4 separate regions of the Homo sapiens genome follow, and all the other regions are linked to region 1. The links are contacts of gene promoters, found by promoter capture Hi-C in blood cells and fetal thymus (Javierre and others, 2016). All regions are on one chromosome and are shown on one strand. The core of a region is centred on a gene start or on the middle of the fragment in contact, and the rest is flanking DNA. Distances in the headings are between cores, read along the strand shown.

Region 1 (2,824 bases), core at 199-2,698:
GAAAATTTCTAATTAATTCATCAAATACCTTTTAAGGACCTATTGCGTCTAAGGTTCTGTGCTAGGCTGTAAGGCTCAATGTCTTACATTGTAATGCAGGGACAATACCAACTATGGCAGAGAGTTGTGATGATCAAAGTGGGCAAAGATTACAGATTATCGAACAAAGGCTAGAGGCCACCACATCCTAGGTGTGTTCTATTTTCCCCCTTTACTTCAATCTTACTCAACTGATTTATTCTCCAAGTTTTCCTTTTGGTTTGGTCTTAGATCATTCCTATCAAGTATACCTGTCCTCAATTTTCAAAAATTCAGAATCAGAATTCCATATTCTATCAGTAGGTACGTTTGTGATACACCTTGCCTGGCTACCTCTTAGCTACCCTGTTTACAATGGAAAGATTAGGTCAAAGGGCGTTCTTCTTACCCCAGAGCCCTTCCAAACTCATGCCAATAGGCATGCCACTGCCTCCTTATCAGAGGCAACTTCCAGCAGTACTCCCTTCCAAATCACAAATATCTACTTTACCAAATCGCTGCTTTTTTAAATTAAAAATTCTTAAGGATCATTTACATCAGTTCTTTCATGCTACAAATTCAGAAAGTTTACGTCCAGAGATTAGGAGTCACTCAAGGTCACACAGTGAGTTGGTGACAGGGTCAGTACTGTCTGCTGCTATTGCTACATTCCCGGCACCTTCTCCAAACCCGCGTCTCCCAGCACTAGCCCAGAAGGAACTTCTGCAGGACACGCCCCCCTCCCAACTCGGAGCCCTCTTTAGTAAACGGGCTGGGGCCCTAATCCAACGGCAAGCCCAGGCCCCCTTCACCTGAAGGTAGCCTGTGTGAATGGGATGTGTGTCAGTGTAATTCGAGTGGAGGTGGGTGGGGGGTGGTTCCGGGTCCAGGGCGGGAAACGCGGCTCTGGGAATTCCCGGGTGACACCTACTTAAGAAAAGCACCCGGGGAGATGCAGTGCTCTACCCTCCGTGGCTCCTCTAGGGGTGGGGGCGGGGGTGTGGTCTGGTTACAGCACTTAACGGGCCCTCCCCACCCCAAAACGGAGGCCAACTTTCCCCAGCGGCAACTAATGGGACTGTCTCGACCCATGAAGCCAGCTCCCAGCCCTAGGATTAGACCCGCGACCCCAGACCAGTCGCGTCCAGCTAAGTCCTGCGACTCCCCCAGCCCGCCCCCTGCCCCGCAGGAACACAGGACCGGCGCGCGGAGAGAGAGTGAGGGAGAGGGGCGCGGGAGGGAGGGAGGGGTCACTTCCGGTCGCAACAGCTCACCTCGTAGCGGAACATTCTTGGGGAGGGGGGCAGGGAGCGGGGAGGGGAGAGGGGGAGGGAGGGAAGAAGCGCTGACTCCCCGGCTCCTCCGCGCGCGGGTCCTCCACCGGCTCGCGACCCCTGGCCGCCGCCGTACGCCGGAGCGTGCGTGGGGACGTGCGCAGGCGCGCCTCAGGCAGGGCGGCCACCCCGCTCGGCGCCCGGCGGCGGCGGCTGCGCAGGGACAGATTTGGCGTCCCGCTTCCTAGTCTCAGCGGCGGGAAGGAGGTCCCGTGGCGAGAGACTGCGCACGCGCTGCCCGTCTTCGGCTGCCTGGTGATCTGGGCTTGTAGCTCCGCCCCCTCTTTCTCCGCGCCCTCTAGGCGCTCGGCTTGGAGCTCAGGGGCCGGTCACGAGTTCTCCGTCACCCGTGGGGCGGAGAAAACCCTTGTGATTGTCACAGGATATAGCTTTGAAGAATCCTGCGCTTAGCCTGGGCTGGGAAAGATGAGATTCCCGGGCAGTTTTTCCAACGTCCGACTCACTCCTCAGGCTGCTCGGGGGTCTCCCCGTTGCAATCTGCGCCTTGCGCAGGGAAAAAAGAATGGAAAGTTGCTGGTCTTCGAAAGGGGCGGACTTCGTCGCCACTTTCAGCGGCTCGTCGCCTGCTGAATCCACAGCAGGTCAGGGCTGTGATTTATGTGGCTCAAAGTGATGACGGCGCCCGTTTTTTTTTTTTTTTTTTTTGAAATGCTGAAGACAGGTTCCGGGAGGTTTAACTAGGGTGGTATTTTTAAGCGCCAGGCTCATTAGGCGCGAGGAGCTGCAGAGCCTCGAAGGGCCGCACGGCCGTGGGCCGCTGGCCACGCAGCAGCAGGGTCTTCGGGCCGTGGTGCGCCGCTGGGTGACTCCACTTCCTTAGAGGATCGAACCCACAGAGGAATGTGTCCAGCTTAGAAGCTTCGGCCCCCTGGTTCCAGAATTCTGTTGGGTGGTTTGTTACCTCTAGCACGCTCCATGCCCTTCTTGCCCCTTTCCTTTCAGACAAAACTTGCAGCACAAAGAATGAATTCTTTTGGGTTTCGCAATCCGTTTCTTCCCTGGGCGTCTTAAAATGCAGCCTCGTCTCGGAATGGCATACAGTAAATCCCCTAAATGTTAGTGTGTCTGGATCAGTTTGAGTATCGGAAACGCTGAATTTGTGAAGAAAAGTTCTGGGTGGGAGCTTGTGCTTTGCCACTGGCTAGGAAACTTTGGGCAACTTACCTAAACCTCTCTGAGCCTTAGTTTCTTGTAAAATGGGTATAATTACACCTGCCTCATGATGGTAACACTACTAACGATTGAAGGCTGCCTGGGACTCTGCTAGGCGCTTTATAAAATGGATTATCTCATTGAATCCTTCCTTATGTGCCCCCCATGAGGTAGGTACTGTTATTTTCTCAGTTTACAGTTGAGGAACCTGAGGATTAGCGACATTGTTTGCCTCCAACCACCCAATGGCAAGTGGTAAAGCTAGCAGCTGAGATTTGTCTGATTATTAAAAACCGAGT
Region 2 (2,976 bases), core at 62-2,561, 2.0 Mb before region 1:
TCTGAGTGTTTCTCATAAAATGTATTAGTGAAAAATTATATTCTCTGACACAGCTAGGAAAATACGACCTTGCAGCTCAGCTACAACCATGCTCAGGGGGCCAAATATGACCCAGTGACTTAAGGGTCTTGTCAAGGACTTTTTTTTTTTTTTACTAGCAAGAAACACTAATCACCTTTACATAAGAAAAGAACTGGGAGATTTTTTTCTAGCTACCACTGCCTAACTTGTTACCAACATCTTTATTCTTCCTCGTGATACTGAGTATGATGCCTTGCCTAAAAGGAATAAATGTTTTTTGTTTTTGAGACGGGAGTTTTGCTCTGTCGCCTAGGCTGGAGTGCAGTGGGGTACGATCTTGGCTCACTGCAACCTCCGCCTCCTAGGTTCAAGTGATTCTCCCACCTCAGCCTCCCAAGTAGCTGGGATCACAGGCACACACCACCATGCCTGGCTAATTTTTTTCTAGTAGAGAAGGGGGTTCACCATGTTGAGTAGGCTGGTCTTGAACTTCTGACCTCAAGTGATCCGCCACCCCCCGCCGCCTCGGTTTTCCAAAGTGCCGGGATTACAGGTGTGAGCCACAGCACGCATCCAGGAAGAAATGTTTGATTAGAAGTCAGTCAACTAATGGCCAGGCGCGGTGGCTCACGCCTGTAATCCCAGCACTTCAGGAGGCCAAGGCGGGCAGCTCATTTGAGGTCAGGAGTTCAAGACCAGCCTGGCCAACATGGTGAAACCCTGTCTCTACTAAAAATACAAAAATTAGCTGGACAGTAGTGGCACACACCTGTAATCCCTGCGAGGCGGAGGTTGCAGTGAGCTGAGATCAGGCCACTGCACTCCAGTTTGGGTGAGAGAGTGAGACCCTGTCTCAAAAAAAACAAAACAAAACAAAACAACAAAAACAAAAAAACAAGTCAGGCAACTAGAATTATTCTGGCTGTCTTCCATGCCTCAGTTTCCTCTTATCTGTGGAATGGAATAATAGCTATCTTACATACACATAATTTTCTCCCAAGGTTCAAATGAAAATATGCTGAAAAGCATAAAGTATCAGGCTTGGCACAGTGGTTCATGCCTGTAATCCCAGCACTTTGGGAGGCCAAGGCAGGCAGATCACCTGAGGTCAGGAGTTTGAGACCAGCCTGGCCAATATGGTGAAACCCCATCTCTACTAAAAATACAAAAATTAGCTGGGTGTGGTGGCATGCGCCTGTAGTCACAGCTACTTGGGAGGCTGAGGCAGAAGAACTGCTTGAACCCGGGAGGTGGAAGTTGCAGTGAGCTGAGTTTGCACCACTGCACTCCAGCCTGGGTGGGAGAGTCAGATTCCATCTCAAAAAAAAAAAAAAAAAAGTATTATATGTATGCAAGGCACTATCCATATAAATATTGCATGGCTGATTCTTTTTTAAAAAATATACATTTATTAGTAACTTAATAAGGACCTACTAGCAAGGGTAGAAATAGCTAACTACAACTTCATTTGTAATTATGATAGACACAGAGGGTACAAATGACAAAAATGGCTTGTTTATAATCATTCACTTGGGAAAACTGAGGTACTGAACTGTAAGCTCCTTGGAGGCACAGACAATGTCTTGTTCATTCATGTATCGCTAGTGCCCAGCACAGTACACACATTAGGTGCTTAATAAATATTTATTAAATAAACAAGGCACTTTCCCTCTATACCTCTAGGCCTTATTCATCCTTTTCCTTCCCTTTACTACCAAACAACTCAGAAGACTGAGCGAGGGTAATGGCAGGAGACCCAATGTCACAGTATCTCTCCTCATAACTCTGGGCACTGCCTCTTGCCATTACAATCTTCTGAATTTCCCCTGCTCTGCCAACTCTCCTCTGTCCAGATGGTTATCCTTAAGGCTCAGGTGAGAAGGCAGTCTGTGCTTTTTCTAAACTGTAACTTGAGAGTTCAAATTCCAGTTTTGACTATTCTACAAAGATTACTTTTTATATTTATTTATTTTTTGAGACAGTCTCGCTCTGTCACCCAGGCTGGAGTGTAATGGCACAATCTTAGCTCACTGCAATCTCTGCATCCTGGGCTCAAACTACTTTCCTGCCTCAGCCTCCCAGGTAGCTGGGACTACATGCATACACTGCCATGCTAGGCTAATTTTTGTATTTTTTGTAGAGACAGGGGTCTCCCTATGTTGCCCAGGCTGGTCTTGAACTCCTGGACTCAAGCTATCTGCCTGCCTCAGCCTCCCAAAGTGCTAGGATTACAGGCGTGAACCACCCTGCCCAACAAGATAAAAAAAAAAAAAATTGTTTTGAAATTCCAAATCTTGCCAACATCACTCAGGGCTTCTCTATTTCAATCCATGGCACCCACATGTTCCAGATATTTTTGGAAATCAGTACTCCTCAGTTCACAAATCTTAATGGTTTCTTTTTGCCCTCAGGAGAAAGCTCAAATTCCTTTGACTGGCACTCAAGGCTAATTACATCTTACTCCAACTTAGCTTTGGGGCCTCATCAACCACTACTCTCCTATGCAAAATTTCTGATCCATCCAAATGGATCTCCTTATCGCCTCAAAAAAACACCCCTCACATTATTTCATCTTAGGAAAATTCTTCCTAATTTTTCTTCACCAATATGGATTATTCAAGGTCTAGCTCAAGTGACATCTTATTCTCACTGTCATTCTGGATAGCAACACACTTTGAAAACCATTAGGTAGTTCTTAATATTGATGGCTAAGATATTGTTAATTGCTGTTGTGAGGCATGAGCACAAAATGAGATGGAGGTGACAGGAAATATAGTCACTATCCTTAAACCACAAATTTTACATTCCTAACTAAACTCCTTGAAAAGCAATGACCAGCATTACTAATCTCTCTCTCCATCTCACCCGCCTCATACACCCAGCATTTGCCCAGAACATATATTCAATATCTGTCAACTGACTGATACAAATAGCTACAATCAGAATAGGGAAGGC
Region 3 (3,193 bases), core at 302-2,801, 1.1 Mb before region 1:
GTAGTATACACGAGCTGCGCCTAAGATATATAAGTGACAAGAGAAGAGCAAAGAATAAATTTTTGTTATCAGAATGTTGAGGCTTAATGATACCCACAGTTAATAGATGTTTGTAGCTTTTAAAGGGGACTGACAAGTGGCATATCTATGAGCTCTTCTTTCACAAGCCAGAGGAATTACCAGCCATCCCACAAAGAAAAGCCAAATTCTAAACAGAGTAGTTGGCATGTGAACAAACACTAGCAGCCCCTCCTTGCCTAAAAACCACCCAAATAGAGAAGTTGATCCTCCTTAGATAAGAACCATAAATCAAATAAAATGGGTCAGAGCTAAGCCCCTTTAACTAAACAGGATGGTGCCTAGGAGGAGACTATAATGTTATTAAACTTGACATATGAAAAGAAATAACATGTGAATCTAAAAGATGGTTGGCTGGCAATTCATTTATTAATTGAACAAATATGTATTGAGGGCCTGTCATGTGCCAGGGCTGAGGATGTAGCAGTCAAAAAGCAAAAAAATCAAATAAAAACTGTAAGCCCTGAAGCTTACATTCTGGTGCTGTGAAACAAATAATAAAGAAATTGGTATGTAAAAGTAATATTCTGCATAGAGGATGGGAAGTGGGGAGAGACAGCAATTATAAATATACTGATCAGGGAAGGACTCACTGAGAAGAGAACGCTTGAGCAAGGACTTATATAGGAGGTGGGGAAAGAAAGCAAATATCTGGGGTCATATGATTCAGGTGGAAAGGCCAGCAGGAAAACCACCTGGAGCATCTGTGGAACCACGAGAAGGAGAGTGTGGCCTGAGCAGAGTGAACCAAGGACACAGGGACAGCAAGTAAAGGGGCCAGATCATACAGATGAGGTGGCCACATCACCAAACGTTCAGAATGGGGTATTTTTTAGAAAGAAAATGGGTTCCAAAAATAAGTCATATTGTATCATTTTTAAAATATGTGTTTATTGGCCAGGCATGGTGGCTCATGCCCGTAATCCCAGTACTTTGGGCAGCCGAGGCAGACGGGTCACGAGCTTGTATCATTTTTAAAATATGTGTTTATTGGACGGGCGTGGTGGCTCACGCCCGTAATCCCAGTACTTTGGGTGGCTGAGGCAGGCGGATCACGAGGTCAGGAGATCGAGATCATCACGGCTAACATGGTGAAACCCCATCTCTACTAAAACTATAAAAATTTAGCTGGGAGTGGTGTTGCGTGCCTGTAATCCCAGCTACTCAGGAGGCTGAGGCTTGGAGAATTGCTTGAACCCGGGAGGCAGAGATTGCAGTGAGCTGAGATCATGCCACTGCACTCCAGCCTGGGTGACAGAGCGAGACTCGGTCTCAAAAAAAAAAAAAATGTGTTTATTGACCTGAATTTGGTCTTATTATATTGGTGGACCTATAAGATAATTCTATCCAAAATTTATTTTCAAAATAAAAATTTCCTGAAATATCTTAAAGTGATAGTGATACAAAGTTATGAACATTCAAGCAACTTTAAAAAAATATTGGCCAGGCACAGTGGCTAACGCCTATCATCCCAGCACTTTGGGAGGCTGAGGCACGTGCATCATTTGAGGTCAGGAGAATTTGAGACCAGCCTGGTGTCATGTGACCAGACATGGTGAAACCCTGTCTCTACTAAAAATACAAAAAAATTTGCCAGGTATGGTGGTGGGTGCCTGTAGTCCCAGCTACTCGGGAGGCTGAGACAGGAGAATTGCTTGAACCCAGGAGGCGGAGGTTGCAGCGAGCCAAGATCATGCCACTGAACTCCAGCCTGGGCAACAGAGTGACACTCTGTCTCAACAACAACAAAAAATTGATTATCTGAACATTTTTAATGGTACAGACAATTATTCTTTATATGTATTCACATACCTTAATTGGTTATTTAGATATTATTGTCTCTAGCATTGGGATGTGGACATTTTTCAGGAACATGTGTTTTTTTTCGTTTTTTATTTAAACAGTTATTTTTTTATAAAACTGCAATCTTTTTCAAAACTTCATTTTATGGTTAATATATTTGAAATTATGGACAACTTTAATTGATGCTTCACTATATGTTTTTAACTGAGAACACATTTCCTCTCTAGATACTGATGAACCTGTAAGTTCTGCTAAATGAAGAATCTTCTCATTTTTTAGATTAAAATATGTAAATATTTCAGGCCAATATCGTCATAGGTGCTGTCTTTCTACCTTCATTCAAAGCACTTTTGCTCAATAATTTCTTACAAGATAAAACTTTCAAGTTGTCTATATCTGTGATTGTTTCAACATTTCACCAAATCTAGATACTGCAAAATCATAGACTTTCACAATTTTTCTCCATTTTGGTAGAGAATAAAAATTTATCCAAATAAAATTAGAAGTCAAAATACATCAAAGTCAAGATTTTTCTGAAGCACAATTGTCAAAATAGATAATTAAACCATATCTGCTTTCATCTTTTGATTTGTTCAACTCCTTCTTCGCTTTTGTAGGGAGAAATTTGAGCTTCTTCCTTTGCAAGCCTTATTTTACATAATTGTAACTTGCTAAAAGCTTCAAAAGCTGAATTTTCATGCTACATTCATTCAGTAATCGATTAAAAATTTCCAACTGGTCTTGAACATAATGCAATCTAAATTTGGGTTGCTTTACAAAGTGGTTTTTCAAAGGCTCAGGCATTCCCAAAATCCAATTGATGACATGCAACACAGACAGGAATATACATATAGTCATTCTGAAATGTTTCCTTGCATGGTAGTGTTCAATATCAGCTTCTGTCAGAAAAGTTTTGTAGATCAGTTACTTATAAAATCTGTGTGTGTGTGTGTGTGTGTGTATATATATATTTATAATTTATACATTTTGACAATTTTAGTTTCTGTTTTGACTGACAGAATACCGCAGCTTGTTTGAATGCAGTCACAAATTTTGTGCACATTACAACCAATTCCAAGTACATTTCTGCTTCATAGCTTGTTAACTTGGTAAGAACATTTTTAACACAATGCTGTGCTCTATTAACATTTGTATTCATATTCTTACAACAAAAACAACAGTTTACCTTCAATGTTGAGCTTTTCAACTAAATTTACAGTGGCATTAACAATGTCAGATGTTTCACTTTTTGACTAGGAAATAAATTTTCACATATTTTATTTTGATTGTTTGAATTAGATAAAAAACAAAA
Region 4 (3,302 bases), core at 184-2,683, 1.9 Mb before region 1:
ACAACAACAAAAAAGAAAATGGGAAAAGGGTCGGACGTGGTGGCTCACGCCTATAATCCCAGCACTTTGGCAAGCCCAGGCGGGTGGATCACTTGAGGCCAGGAGTTTGAGACCAGCCTGGCCATCATGGCAAAACCTCATCTCTACTAAAAATACAAAAGTTAGCTGGGCGTAGTGGCGCATGCCTGTAATCTCAGCTACTTGAGAAAGCTAAGGCATGAGAATCACTTGAACCCAGGAGGTGGAGGTTGCAGGTAGCTGTGATTGTGCCACCACACTCCTGCCTGGGCAAGAGAGTGAGACTCTCAAAAAGAAAACATAATAGTATCATCTAACACATATTGTGGTTAGTATATTAAAAGCACTATTCTAAGTGCTTACCCACATTAACTCTTAATCTTCACAACCATCCCATTGGAATATTATCCATGTTATATAGAATGTATCTGCTTATAAAACTTTACAATTAGATTCATTATTTAAGAGAAAGAAGCAAAGTCACAATTTCACTCTTGAAAACAGTAGTAATTGTCCTAGAAACAAACAGCCCTTTACCAAATAGTTTACAGTGGTCATAGGCAGTAATATTTTGCTGATTTTGTCCTTTACCCTCTGGCTCTGAACTCATTTTATCTTATTCTATGGTGAGTTTTCAGTTGAATTCCGACCACTCTCTTACCTTCTGCCTGCAGAAGGACATCACAGAACACATCACTCTGCTGCTGGTGATGAAGCTGCAGAAAAGCTAACCTGAGGAACCGGGGGTTCCTGTATAGGATTTTGGGACTGGCAGGAGAGCACATGTTGGCAAGAGTCTTAACAAACCTTCTAGGTTTTCACAGATCAGACTCCTGTAGGTGAGATAATACATTTCAGAGGCATGGTTACATCTAATTTGTTTTTTGTCTTTGAAATGGCAGGGGAATTTTGAAAGTGAGAGATAATAGTATGAGTTGAGGAAACATCAGCCCAGAAATTGTGCCAAGGATATCTCAAGAAAGAAAATTATCATAGTGGTTACATGTGGGAGCTCAGAGATAAGCCTAGGTTTGGGTCTTGGCTCTATTTATTAGCCTGGCTGTATAATCTCACACAGGTGACCTAACTTCTCTGAGTCTCACTTTCCTATCCATGAAATAGAATAATAGTACTTACCTTGTAGGGTTGTTTTAAAGATTAAATGAGTCAGTGAAGGTAAAGTTGCTTAGCACAGTGAGTGCCTGGCACAAAATAACTACCAAGCCCCAAATGGTAACTATTATTATCCTTCAACCTTCCTCATTTCCATTACCACTGAGACTCAACTGCTACAATGCTGACTACTTATATTCTTCCTGAGCACCACATCCCAGCTCCACAGGTATAATCTTCAAGTTAACACTTTTAAGGAAACATTACTGGGTATAAAATTATCTCTAGTAAGTCGTATGCGCCTTTTCTCTGAGCTCACTGTATCACACTAACCAGCAGAGGGTGCACAATAAAGAAGAGAAGCCTCTGACTCTGCGGGAAGGTCTCTCACAGAACCAAGGACGTTGCCACCCTTGGCTGGGTGTACTTGACCAAAGCGAGCCTGACTGACCCTGGTAGTAGGCAAAGAATTTGGCCTTTACGTTTGTATAGTTAATTACCAGGCTAACAATGCAGCAAGGATAGTAAAGCATTTTACCCCTCCCAAAACAAACTGAGTATTCTGACTTCAGGCTTATGTCCAGCTTTTTAGCTCCGAAACCCCCCCACTCACTGCACAGCTGTGTTCCTTTCCTGGAATGCAGTTTTCTATCAGGTAGCACTGAGGGTCCGAACAGTTCACGTCAAAACTATCAGGAAAGAAGAATGAAAAGGTAAATTAAGAGAAGGCGGGCTTGGCTGGGCGGGGTGGCTCACGCCTGTAATCCCAGCACTTTGGGAGGCCGAGGCGGGTGGATCACCTGAGGTTAGGAGTTTGAGACCAGCCTGGCCAACATGGTGACTCCCCGTCTCTACAAAAATACGAAAATTAGCCGGGCATGGTGGCAGGCGCCTGTAATCTCAGCTACTCAGGAGGCTGAGGTGGGAGAATCGCTTGAACCTGGGAGGCAGAGGTTGTAGATAGAGCCACTGCACTCCAGCCTGGGCGACAGAGCGAGACTCCGTCTCAAAAAAAAAAAAAAAATTCCCATCCCAGTGAGAGAGATGTGGATGGAGGATGGCAGCTGTTGCAAGGGCCCTGGGGAAGCTTCTCAATCCACGATCGCCTGGCCTTGCCTCCAGACCCAACTTGAAATAGCTTTTCGGTAGACTTTGCTCCTGTTGCCTTCTCTGTGCTTGTCCTCTGTCCAGCCTGCCTTGCTTCCTCTCAATGTTCAGCGTTGAGTCAGGAGGCTGAGCAAAGATGCGCAGGTGGGCCAACGGCTGAGTGCTTCACCTCCCCATCCAGAAGCAAGGGAATCGGTGTTGGCGGAGAAAGCAGGGCTTCAGGGAGAGCCCTGCAAAGCGGGGTGGCCCGCACGCTTGGGCGCCCTGGCCCAACTCCTTTGAAGAAAGACTCCTAGGCGCGAGGGTTTCTGGGAATGGACCGTGGGGATCCGGGAGGCCCAAAGTCAGGACTTCCCGTCACGGCCACCTCCGCCAGCATAGACTTTGCAGGCAGCCCCTGGCGCCCTTGTATCCCTGCGGGCTTCAGCACCCACATGCACTGGGTGGTAGTGATAGCGAGGGTTGTAAGGCCACGCGGCCAGCGCCACACACCTCGTGCCACCGTCCTAGCGCGCTGCGCGTCGCAGAGCCCTACGCCCCTCCTCCTCCCGAGTCCTCGGGCCTACGTCGTCCGGCATACGTCATCCCCATTGGCCGAAGGCTCCCGGGAGAACCAATCAGAACAGGAGGAGCGCTTTGGGCGGGAGGCTAAGTCTCGAGGGACTTGAGGGCTGAGGGAAGATGGCTGGGCTGCAAGAGGCAGGGGGATGGGCCCGTCAGGGAGGAATTCTTGTGAAAGCCGTCGTCTGCCTCAGCACTTGATGAAAACACACCGAAAAAGAGGGTAGGGATGCTGTAGTAGAGCAGGCGCCAAGGCGGTTAAGGGTCATGTCCGTCTTCCCTTTGAAGAGGCAGTAGATGCCCTTGGCTCTGCCTGGAGCGCTCCATGTTTCGTGATGGAAGTCTCTGGATGGCTCTGGTAACACCGGGTCCCCCATATGGCTAATTTAGAAATCTCCTAAGACCAGAGATGTTATGGAATAAGGTCCTTGGGCAGTTTCTGAATTCAGTTTCTTCACTGATTCCACTCCAACCCCAAATCTTGGAGAACTAATGACCCAGGG

The links. Contacts are between HindIII fragments. The CHiCAGO score rates a contact against its expected background, and 5 or more counts as called.
Region 2: a fragment that was not itself captured here is called in contact with the fragment with the promoter of PATL1 in region 1 in 1 of 17 cell types (activated CD4 T cells); the score reaches 5.3 in activated CD4 T cells.
Region 3: a contact is called between a fragment that was not itself captured here and the fragment with the promoter of PATL1 in region 1, in 5 of 17 cell types (naive CD8 T cells, total CD8 T cells, total CD4 T cells and 2 more). The highest score is 9.0, in naive CD8 T cells.
Region 4: a contact is called between the fragment with the promoter of BTBD18 here and the fragment with the promoter of PATL1 in region 1, in 1 of 17 cell types (fetal thymus). The highest score is 6.0, in fetal thymus.

The regions. Positions count from the first base shown.
Region 1 is chr11:59,667,589-59,670,412 of GRCh38, forward strand. It overlaps PATL1 (PAT1 homolog 1, processing body mRNA decay factor), which reads right to left and starts at 1,449. Exons shown (of 19, transcript NM_152716.3): 1 at 1,293-1,449. The coding sequence starts at 1,307. PATL1-DT (PATL1 divergent transcript) reads left to right here and starts at 1,722. Exons shown (of 4, transcript NR_187296.1): 1 at 1,722-1,954. RefSeq lists a silencer at 1,179-1,528 and enhancers at 1,488-1,782, 1,709-1,998. The HindIII fragment of the contact is 2,400 bases long and covers 1-2,229 here.
Region 2 is chr11:57,705,857-57,708,832 of GRCh38, forward strand. All of the region lies in intron 1 of MED19 (mediator complex subunit 19), which reads right to left. Among named protein-coding and RNA genes, the nearest start is that of MED19, 4.9 kb to the right of the region's middle. The HindIII fragment of the contact is 6,726 bases long and covers 1-2,976 here.
Region 3 is chr11:58,564,182-58,567,374 of GRCh38, forward strand. LPXN (leupaxin) reads right to left here. Exons shown (of 9, transcript NM_004811.3): 3 at 1-20. Among named protein-coding and RNA genes, the nearest start is that of LPXN, 10 kb to the right of the region's middle. The HindIII fragment of the contact is 2,012 bases long and covers 546-2,557 here.
Region 4 is chr11:57,750,386-57,753,687 of GRCh38, forward strand. BTBD18 (BTB domain containing 18) reads right to left here and starts at 1,434. Exons shown (of 3, transcript NM_001145101.3): 1 at 1,156-1,434; 2 at 680-851. The coding sequence starts at 803. All of the region lies in intron 2 of TMX2-CTNND1 (TMX2-CTNND1 readthrough (NMD candidate)), which reads left to right. The HindIII fragment of the contact is 11,151 bases long and covers 1-2,216 here.